3 separate regions of the Homo sapiens genome follow, and regions 1 and 2 are each linked to region 3. The links are contacts of gene promoters, found by promoter capture Hi-C in human tissues and cell types (Jung and others, 2019). All regions are on one chromosome and are shown on one strand. Each heading gives the region's core, a stretch centred on a gene start or on the middle of the fragment in contact. The rest is flanking DNA. Distances are from core to core; before and after follow the strand shown. Region 1 holds the start of ZNF773 (zinc finger protein 773). Region 2 has its middle 13 kb from the start of ZSCAN4. Region 3 holds the start of ZNF264 (zinc finger protein 264).

Region 1 (3,649 bases), core at 682-3,181, 310 kb before region 3:
AGAATAGCCAGCAAGGAGTCCCAAGACACCATAATTCTGAAGACCATGTAGGTAGGAGTTGAGGAGGGTGAGGGCCTGAGACATCCTCCACTTACCTTCTCATGGTCTATAACTAACTCTGAAGTCACAAGAACCTATGGAAAATCAAGACCATGAGAACCAGACAGTGATGTTACCAAAGGATCATCCAAGCCCCCTCGTCTAGCCTGGAGTCAGGTGTGCCTGACTATCTGCAATCTGGGCTTTGGTTCTTAGTGATGCCTCTTACCTGTTGTGTGCCCTTGGAAAAATGCTCAACTTCCCTGTGCCTTGGTATTGCCATCTGCAACATGGCAATAATGGTATTCACTCAATAGGACTATTGTTTGTATCAAACTCATTCTTATGTGTCTAGGACTAAATATCAACTCTTACTGTACACATAATTAATGCTTCTGTCAACATTTTCAGTGCAAATAAACTGGTAGGTTTTCAAAATGTGGGTTTCTGCCTGGGTGCAGTGGCTCAAGCCTGTAATCCCAACACTTTGGGAGGCCGAGGTGGGCAGATCACAAGAGCAGAATTCTGTCTCAAAAAAAAAAAAAAAAGAAAGAAAAAGAAAGACAATGTGGGTTTCCTTTTGGCAATCTGGCTGCCTGCTATATACTCCCCTGAAGACCATCCTGCTGAGAGCCCTCCCTTCTACTGGAGCAGTTGATCATCCCACCTGTGCTGATAGCTAGGGAAACTTAGGCACCAAAGGTGCTGCTCCACCAGCCTGGCTGACCTTTCCTTTTCTCCATATGGACTGGACATGAGGAACTACTAAGCCTGGAGTGGCAAACCTATATACTACCCAACACTGCGGTCTCCATCCAGTCCTGGGTGTTCATACTCTATAACCCTCCATTCCTGCAGGCACCAGACAAAATCACTTCGGACCACGAAACTCCAGGCTGTAGAGGCTGCCCCATCCTACAGGCCCATCTCTCCCTTCCCTCACCTCAGGGACCATCTGAAAGAAAACTTTAAGATTCTCCCTCCTAAATACGAGCCCCAGGCCTTCCAGCTGCTCATGTGGACATGACACCTCCACTCTGGGACATCTCAGGATCACCATGCCCAAAACCTATTCCCTGCACAGCCTTACCCATCTCCATCCTTCCTGATATTCAGGAACAAACAAAAATACAAATAAAAATCCAGAATGGCTCTTCATTCCCTACTTTCTTTCACAGTCACATCTGATGCAACAGGAATTCCCGTCTGTTCAGTTTTTGAAATCCATCCAAGATCTGATCACTTCCCCTCCTCTGTGGCCCAGTCCCAGTAGACTCTCCACTAGTCTACTGAATTTACCTACTCACAGGTCTGTCTTCACCCGCCTCACCCCCACCCCAGTCTGTTTTGACTTGAAGGGCCTTTGGCAAACTTTGAGAAACAGATCTTGTCACTCTTCTGTCTCCAGCCCTCCGCGGCCACTGTGGCCCCCTCAGGATGAAAGCGCAGCTGCTCGGGCTGTCGCTCGACACGCGCCTCGTCCCTTCCCAAGCTGCCCACTACAGACACCAGGAGGCCTCAGGTTCGGGACTCGCTGAATGCGCCTCACATCTTTGCGAGCCGGGCCCCTTGCCCTCCATTGCCACCCCATCACACTGCGTGTCAGAAACGGGACGCCGCCCACGAACGCCCCACAGTTCTGCACCCGGGGACCTGAGCAGGCGGCCCTCACAGGGCTTTAGGATTCGGGGGAGGCCGGGAGGACGCGGCGCTCACCTGAGCGGGGTCCCTCAGCGTGGCCGCCGCCATCGGAGCCTGTGGCGGTGAGACAACGACCGAGGAAAGGGCCCGGGCCACCCTGGGCGCCGCCACCGAGCCTCAGACCCGCCTCTGAGCTGCGAGAACACAGCGCGTCCCCACCGCGCTTTCCGGAGCTGGTCGCCGCAGCGAACAACCAGCTTCCGGCAAGCTGAGTTCTCTTGAGGGCAGCGAAAGCAACCGCCGAGGGGAGACGCCGGAAGTCCCGCCCATTGCGCGTCGCACTCTCGGGTAGACCTCTTTTCATTGGCCAAGCATCGCGGCTCACGGCGCGGCGCCTTCTGGGCAGTGTAGTTCGCGTGGCTCCAAACTTCGAGGAAGTGGGCATAACTTCGGAGATGGAGATTGGAGACGGTAGATGATGGAGATGGAGATGGAGATGGAGATGATGGAGATGATGGAGATGGAGATGATGGAGATAGAGATGATGATGGAGATGGAGATGATGGAAATGGAGATGATGAAGATGGAGATGATGGAGAAGATGGAGATGATGGAGAAGATGGAGATGATGGAGAAGATGGAGATGGAGATGATGGAGTAGGAGATGGAGATGGAGATGATGGAGATGATGGAGATGGAGATGATGGAGATAGAGATGATGATGGAGATAGAGATGATGATGGAGATGGAGATGATGGAGATGGAGATGATGGAGATAGAGATGATGATGGACATGGAGATGATGGAGATGGAGATGATGATGAAGATGGAGATGATGGAGAAGATGGAGATGGAGATGATGGAGTAGGAGATGGAGGAGAAATGAGTGTCGAGAACTCTCGGACTCATCTGGAACCTGTTGTAATTGGAGATGGGCCTGGATTTCAGTTTCCTGCAGCTGATACTCCAATCTTTCCTTCTTTTGAAGGACTTGAAGAGGATCTTCAGGGCCACCATAAAGAGGTTTCACTGGGCAAAGCCACGTATACCTTCCTAAATTTCCTTTGGCAAGGGGACACCCAATATTAATGCCTGATGTATGATAATAAGAAAAGGCTCTGAATTCTGGATGTAGGTGATGAGAGAGTAGGGGAGCCCAAGGATTTACGTTCCTCTTTCACCCCATTCTCATTTGTGTTCTTTCCTTCCTCAAGGACCCAACATTGGTGTAAAGGCACAACAACAGGCAGCAAACCCATAAGCCAACTCCCCCTCAATTTCTCCCCTTCATCCATTTCTGCTCCATATTCCTGTCACAGTTACTATGGGACTGAACGAAGGGGAACGAATGCAGAAATGAAAACAAAGGCAAAATAAATCTGTTTTAAAGAAGGGGTCAGGGGGCTTCTTGCTTCTAGTGAGGAAGGGCCCTGAGCTTCCACAGACCTTCATATTTATTGGGTAGAAAGAGTAGGGAGGTGGTGGCTTACGCCTGTAATCCCAGCACTTTGGGAGGCCAAGGCGGGTGGATCACAAGGTCAGGAGATCGAGACTATCCTGGCTAACACGGTGAAACCCCGTCTGTACTAAAAAATACAAAAAATTAGCCGGGTGTGGTAGCAGGTGCCTGTAGTCCCAGCTACTCGGGAGGCTGAGACGGGAGAATGGCATGAACCCGGGAGGTGGAGCTTGCAGTGAGTGGAGTTCATGCCACTGCACTCCAGCCTGGGCGACAGGGAGAGAATCCGTCTCAAAAACAAAAAAAAAGAAAAGAAAATATCGCTCTGGTTTTGTAATGATAAAATAGAACCTACATATATTTTGTGTTATGCATTCTTGGCATACCTATTTCAATGAATTCTGGTTTTTTGAAATTGTCTCAAATATTCAAAAATTTTTTCCAGTATATTTATTGAAAAACATTCACATATAATTGGACCTGTGCATTTCAAACCTGTGTTATTTAAGG
Region 2 (3,537 bases), core at 380-2,879, 470 kb before region 3:
CTTGACATTTATGAGGAATATTCTATTTATAAATGTAACACAGTTACCCATTCAGATGTGCATAGACATTTGTTTTTGTTTTCCAGTCTTTAGCTTTGAAGAAAATTGTTGATAACACGCAAAATCAGTTGGCTTTCTATATCCATGGGTTCTGCATCTATAGATTCAACCCACTGCAAATTGAATATTTGGAAGAAAAATTGCATCTGTACTGAACATGCACAGACCTTTTTTGGGTCATTACTCCCTAAACAATACAACTATTGTGTAGCAGCTATTTAAACAGCATTTACACTGTATTAGGTGACAATGTATAGCAACTATTTAAACAGCATTTGCATTGTATTAGGTATTATAAGTAATTTAAATTATAATTTAAATTATGTGGGAGGATATACACAGGTTATATGCAAATACCACATCATATTATATAAGAGACTAGAACATCTTCAGGTTTTGGTATCCTTGGGGGTCCTGGAATCAGTCCCCCATGGATACTGAGGAATGATTATACAAGTATTTCTATGGACACGTTTCCATCTCTTGAGGTTATACTTAGGAATGAGATTAATTTATCAAATGATAAGTGGACAACTAACTTTAATAACGGCTACAGTGTTTTCCAAATTTATTTATTTTGCATTTCCACCAGCAATGTATGAGAGCTCCAGTTTATTTCATACCTTCAACAGCTAGGTGTGATCATTCGGTTAATGTTACTCATCAAAATGAGTATGTAGTGGTATCTCATTGTGGTTTTCATTTGTAGTTCCTTAAATAGTAATAATTCTGAACTTATTTTCATGCATTTATATACCATTCATATATCATCTTTAGTGAAAAATGTGTTCAAATATTTTGCCTTTTTTTTTTTTTTGACATGGAGTCTAGCTCTGTTGCAGACAGACGGAGGGCAGACGGAGTTTCACTCTTGTTGCCCAGGCTGGAGTACAGTGGCGCGATCTCAGCTGACTGCAACCTCTGCCTCCCGGGTTCAAGCAATTCTCCTGCCTCAGCCTCTTGAGTAGCTGGGATTACAGGTGCCTGCCACCACTCCTGGACACTCCCGGATAATTTTTGTATTTTTACTAGAGACGAGGTTTCACCATGTTGGCCAGGCTGATGTTGAACTCCTGTCCTCAAGTGATCCGCCTTCCTCAGCCCCCCAAAGCGTTGGAATTACAGCTATGATATCTCACCCTGTTGCCCAGGCTGGAGTGCAGTGATTTGATCATAGCTCACTGAAGCTTCGACCTCCCTGGAATCAGTGATCCTTCCATCTCAGCCTCCCAAGTAGCTGGGGCCACAGGCACACACCACCATGCCCAGCTTATTAGCTAATTTTTGTAGAAACAGTGTTTTGCCATGTTGCCCAGGCTGGTCTTGAACTTTTGCCTATTTTTAAATTGTGTTGTTTATGCTATTTGTAGGGATGTTTTACGTATTCTGAATACTCATCATTTATTAGATAGAGGTTTCACAAATATTTTTCCCAGGCTGTAGTTGGCCCTTTCCTTTTTTTACAGGGGGTATATGGGTGAAGTCAACTTGCCAGTCCTGTTCTGGGAAATGGCCTCATGCCTGATGAGTGGAGAAAGGAGGTGGTTTAAGAGCCCCTTCAGGGGAAGTCTGACCACAAACTGGGCAGACTGGTTAAACATTCAAGGTTGGTTGTCATGGTGGTGGAGTGTGTGTAAGTTTTTAAAAACTGGGGTATGTGGTAATAACCAGCATGGAAGTGGTTGTGGATGTGGGAGGGAATAGAGAGTTCTTGAGATTTGGGCAGGATGAGTTTGTGTCAAGATAACATCAGCCTTCCCTTTGGGTAGCCCCAGTGTTAGTTTGACTTGTTCCTCCTGGGTGTATGAGGGATGTCTGCTGGGAAAATGGACAACAGTGATGGGATGTTGTGGGCCACCTGCCAGGCTGCTGAGTCTGCCATAATGTTTCCCTTGGTTATGGCATCTGTAGCTCTCTGGTGTCCATTGCAATGGATAATGGTGGCCTCTAATGGTAGTTTAGCTACCTCCAGCAACCTGTGTATCAGTTTGCCATTTACTATGCAGGTCCCTTTGGTACTAAGAAAAGCTCTTTCCTGTGAGATTAAGGCTTGGGAGTGTAGAATGTGGTATGCATACTTACAGTTAGTGTAAATATTGACCCTTTTTCCTATTGCTAGGGTGAGGGCCCTAGTTAGGTCGACTAATTCTGCCTGTTAGGAGGTGGTAGGGGATGCGACAGTATTGGACTCTAGGAGCTTGTGTTTGGCAACGATGGTGTAGCCTGCTGCAAGACATGGCTCTTTAAAGGAGCTCCCATCAATGAACCATGTAGGTGTCCCCTGTAAGGGGGTCTCTGATATGTGTCGGAAAGGGAAGGAAAGGGAATCTAAAAAGTCCAAGCAGGAGTGACAGAGTTCAGAGTCAAAGGTCCTTATAGGGAAGAGGGTGGCTGGGTTGAGAACTTTACATCTTTGGTAGGTGATTAGAAGGTTGTTTATGTAGGAGGTGTGTGTTTGTTGTAAGTAAGATAGCAGGAGGGAAAGAAGGGAGCAATGACTCATGAGTTCCTGTAGGTTATGAGAAGGTGCAATGGTAATGTATTGATAGAGGGTGAGTTTTTGAGCTTCTGAGGCCAGCAGCATAGACACACATAAGATCCTTAAACAGGGTGGCCAACCTTAGATGACTGAGTTCAGTTGTTTTGAGAGATATACAATGGCTTGTGGGGTACCGCTGAATGTTTGACAGAGTAGCCCAAGAACAAGGCCTTGGTTAGAATGAACATACAGAGTAAAGGGCTTGTTGGGGTTGGGTAGTCCCAGTGCTGGCGACATTGAAAGGGCATTTTTCAGTTTTTTGAACTGGGAGTCAATGGTACAGACTGGATCCAGGTGTTCTAGGATGGGCCCACGTGATGTGGTGTACAGCAGCTTGGTCAGCAAGTTGGGAATCCATAGCCAGAAGTATCCCACAAGGCTCAAGAAGGAAAGGAGGTTCTTTGTATGAGAAAGGGGCATATCCCGGATTAGCTTCTTCCATTGGGTTGGTATGGCCTGAATATTAGGGATTAGGATAAGTCCAAGGTAGGTAACCTGGGGTTGGGTTACTTGAGCCTTTGTGAGTGAGACCTAATATCCCCAAGAATGGAGAAAGTTTAGAAGCTGAATGATGTGTTGGATGGATAGATAGGTTAAGGGAGGGGCTACAGAGAAGGGTGTTATTGATGTATTGGAGGAGGGTGCTAGGAGCAAGGGGAAGTTTAGCCAGGTCCCTGGTGAGGGCCTGTCCAAATAAGCAGGGGCTATTCCAGCCCCCCTGTGGGAATATAGTCCATGTTAGCTGTGCGGATGTGTGAGTATCAGGATCTGTCCAGGTGAAAGCAAAAAGGCTTTGGGAGGCTGGATCCAAGGGGATGGTGAAAAAAGGTGTCCTTCAAGTCCAATACAGATAAATGAGTGGTGGAGGTGGGGGGATATGGGAAAGTAAAGTGTAGGGATTGGGGGCCACCAGATGGATGGGCACCACTGCCTGGTTA
Region 3 (3,915 bases), core at 1,212-3,711:
TGGTACAGGGTCCGCTGAGCTAGGTCCAGCTGCCCCCACTCCTCCTTGGTGAAAGTCACAGCCACATCATCAAAGGTCACAGACACCTGGAAAGTCAAACAGAATTAGTAGTATTGGCCTTTCAGCTGCTGAATGAGATCACAGACTGTGCTCCACTGGAAAAGGTGTACAGTGATGGCGGCCTGAATCACAGAGCACCTCCTGAGGGCCTAGCTCTGTGCTGGGCTCAAGAGGGAAGATAGATGCTTTTAACATAATACCAGAGTAAAGGAGAGAAGCCTCCTATTTAACGGCCGTTAGAGAATGACACAGGACAACGGAAACAACTTGTGGACTGTGAAATACAGAAGCTAAGGGCTCTAAAACGACAGGGAAATGGGGAAATGGTAATAATAGCAATAATGGTTACAACGGCAGTACCTGAGTCTCACTGGTCCAGCTAGGTGCCTGCCCCATGTTGAAGGCTTCACATCCTGTGTAAACACAGTGACTAGAAGTTCCTAGCTCCAAACACTTGAAACTGACACTTGACAGCTCTTACCTCAAAGACAGCATTTCATTTCTCTGAGCCTTGATTTCTGGATCAATACAATAACACTTCCCACCAGTAACAGTTGTTAAATTTAAAGTATTCAATGCTCAGTGTGCTCTGGGATTTTTATTAATCCTTTCACAGTCCCTGCAGTCAACACCATCATCACCTTCACAGTCAATGACTTCATGCTAAGGAAGCGCTATCAATTCACCCAGTCACACATCTCACCACCATAGATAGGATCTAAACATGGGGTTACTATGATTCACGGTCTAACAGTGTAACTCCAACACTCCCCCAACATCAAAGCAAATCTAATGCGATGAAGTTATAAGCATTTCCACTCATTTCTAACATTAAGTCTATTTCAATTAGCCCTGAAAAACGTATCTGTGGGCCGGGCATGGTGGCTCATGCATGTAATCCCAGCACTTTGGGAGGTCGAGGTGGGCGGATCGCTTGAGGCCAGGAGTTGAAGACCAGCCTGGCAAATATGGTGAAACCCAGTCTCTACTAAAATACAAAAATCAGTCAGGTGTGGTAGTGCATGCCTGTAATCCCAACTACTCGGCAGGCTGGGGCAGGAGAATTGCTTGAACCTGGGAGGCAGAGACTGCAGTGAGCTGAGAGTGCACCACTGTACTCCAGCCTGGGCGACAGAGTGAGACCCTGTCTCAAAACAAAAAAAAGTATGTGAACACGGGCACAAAAAGCTCAGCATTCCTCACTGACCCCACAGAGCGGCACTGGAAGGGCTGCATCTACTTGGGGAACGACAGGCTCCAGACCAGCTTCCCATGCCCTCTGGGATCTCCCTGGGTCTCCCAGATCCCCCAAGGAAATTCCACAATGAACCAACCATCGGCCTCTTTCCTTACTGGGTTCCGACAGAACTTGTCTCTGACGCCAGGATACTTTGGGGCCACGGAACACGAGCGGCCAAGGATAATGCAGGCTGTAGCGATGAGAGTAAGGGCATCTGACTGGCCACAATGTCTGCAGTAGTTGCGGATGGCTAGAACATCCAGGAAAAGACCACACACTGTTGCCCTCCACGTCTCAGCGGCCGCAGGAAAACCATGGCAACCTTACACACCCTCCTGAGCCTCCTTAAACATACAACATACCTTGTCTCTGCTCGCGCATTTGTCGGCTTGCTACTGCCCTGCCCTCCCCTTCCCCCCTCAGGCCCCCAATTCATGCTGGAATGAGACCTGGTCCACCAGAGAATGCTTGCAGGCCAAGGATGATGGGAGTCCCCAGAGGAAGCATCATTCACTCAACAACCTACGGAGCTCCTTCCAGTAGGCCCAACACTCCTTACGGCCAGGTATAAATTAAGTGGCAAACCAGCTCCACACACCAAAGCGAACGACGACTGCGAAGACAAATCCAGGGGATACCTGGGCTCCCACCCACTTCGGAAACCGCCTCAGCGCTGGCAAGGAAGCGGCAACCGCGAAGCCACCGTCCACTCACCTGGGCCCGGTCCGTCAGCACCGCTGCCGCCATCACGTCACCCCCTGGGCCGCAGAGCTGGGACAGAGGAGCCCCGGGCGGCCTGACGGACCCCACCTGTGCCCGACCCTGGCCGGTTGCCCGGGGCTTCCAGGCGCGCTCGGGGCCGCCGCCTCCTCGGTGGCAACGGCGTTCCAGACGCAGGGCCGCCGCCTCCTCGGTGGCAACCGCGTTCCAGACCCAGGGCGCCGCCCCTGGAGACCGCGGGGCTGAAGGGCGGGGGAGGAGAGACCGCAGCTTGACGGCGACCCAGGAACAAACCCACGGAAGGGGTCAGGCTCGTACAAAGGTGCGGCGGGGATTCCTATCCTACTCCCCTGCTCGGTCCTGACTAGGGACCTGCAAAGCGGCCCCGACCGGGGCCCTCAGTGGCTACAGACCTCTCCAGACAGAAGTGCAGAAGAAAATGGCGTCCGCAGCGAGCAACCCGGAAGTCCCGCCCCCACCGGCGTGAGCCGTCGGAAACGTCCCCGTCCTAGGCCGTCGTTGGCCCAGCTCCCGCCGTACGCATAATGCACAGCCTTCTAAGTAGTGTAGTTTTCCTCATGTGTTCAACAACGGGAGGAACGCTTCACGGCGCAAGTTTTCCTCCCAGGGAAAGGCACTCCAGGACCCGAGGAGACGCTCCAGACCCACCTCTTTACGGTGGGCACAACTCGAGGGGAAGGATGGAGGGAGGGAACCGAGGGGCAAGGGTTACATTGCATTCTTCTCTCGGGAAAATCGGAGCTCGGGAGACAGGGACTTTCCTTCAGGTCAGGGCACAGGCAAAGGCGCAGAACTGGGTCCTCAGCTCGCCTGGCGACTGACCCCCTTTCACATCCCTCCTCCCCGGATCATCATCTTGGAAGACACAAAAAAGCCGAATGATCATCTGGAAGCCCTGCCCCGACACGTTGTGTGCGCAAACTGCCCTCTTTTGAGCCTTCTTTGGACCAGCACAGCCTCTACGTGATGCAGGGAGTCATGTATTTGGCCCAGACCACACAAAAAGTGGATTTGCCCACTTCTGAGGTGGGGAGGCTGCAAGTGGAGGAGGTTCGGAGGCTCAGGATGGTTAGTTTGAAATGTCTACAGAACCACAAAGTATCTCTGTCACAGGCAATTCGACTTACGACTGAATGTTGGAAGAAGGTTTGAGCATGAATATATGAATTTAGGAGTTACCTTACACTGTTATTTCAAGTCATGATATTGAGTGAGACCATCAAGGCAATGCATGTAGATGGAGAAGAAAATACACAGAGCATGAGCCGGGGACCAAGTCTACATCATTAAATGGTTGATGACAATATTACCAGAAAGGCCAGGTCCTTGCATCTAGATCCTGCTGCTTGCTGCACAGAAGGCCAGTCAGCAAGACAATGAGTATTGTCAGGGATGAAGGCTTTATTCGGTGCTGCAGCTGAGGAAAATGGGAGATCAATCTCAAATCTCTTTCCTCAACTGACTAAAACTAGGGGTTTATACATCAGGGAAGAAGTGTAACTATGTTTGAGAAAACAGGAATTAGGAAGGGGTAAGGAAGAGGAATGGGTCAACAGGCAGCAGATGGTCAGTTAGGCAATCATCATGGGTAAGGGGTATAGCATCTCGTTTTTCCAGATGTGGTAATCCAGTAAGTTTCAGTTTCTTTATACTATCTGGGAGGCCTGATGCTTGGTTTCCTGAGAAAGGAAATCAGATAAGACAAATAAAAGTGTCTCGAGTTTTAGGAAGGGGAGGCTCAATGTCTATAATGTGTTGATTCAAAAGAAACCATAAATATCAGTTCTATGGGACACTGGAGCTGGTTTCAGTTCCCTGTTTCTATTTATCAATTCCTCAATCATGGGGAATCTGGACGTGATCTTTCTGGCTGC

What was found. The method cuts DNA at HindIII sites, captures the fragments that hold promoters and counts their contacts. A contact is called where the count stands out against the background at its distance.
Region 1: a contact is called between the fragment with the promoter of ZNF773 here and the fragment with the promoter of ZNF264 in region 3, in 1 of the 25 tissues and cell types used here (adrenal gland).
Region 2: a fragment that was not itself captured here is called in contact with the fragment with the promoter of ZNF264 in region 3 in 2 of the 25 tissues and cell types used here (heart left ventricle and pancreas).

What each region holds. Positions count from the first base shown.
Region 1 is chr19:57,498,220-57,501,868 of GRCh38, reverse strand. ZNF773 (zinc finger protein 773) reads right to left here and starts at 1,931. Exons shown (of 4, transcript NM_198542.3): 1 at 1,756-1,931. The coding sequence starts at 1,788. The HindIII fragment of the contact is 9,164 bases long and covers 1-3,649 here.
Region 2 is chr19:57,654,634-57,658,170 of GRCh38, reverse strand. It overlaps a transcript of ZSCAN4 not described here. Among named protein-coding and RNA genes, the nearest start is that of ZSCAN4, 13 kb to the left of the region's middle. The HindIII fragment of the contact is 8,692 bases long and covers 1-3,537 here.
Region 3 is chr19:57,190,046-57,193,960 of GRCh38, reverse strand. It overlaps ZNF264 (zinc finger protein 264), which reads right to left and starts at 2,461. Exons shown (of 4, transcript NM_003417.5): 1 at 2,015-2,461; 2 at 1-86. The coding sequence starts at 2,047. RefSeq lists a silencer at 1,946-2,215 and enhancers at 2,386-2,445, 2,456-2,545, 2,566-2,625. The HindIII fragment of the contact is 13,408 bases long and covers 1-3,915 here.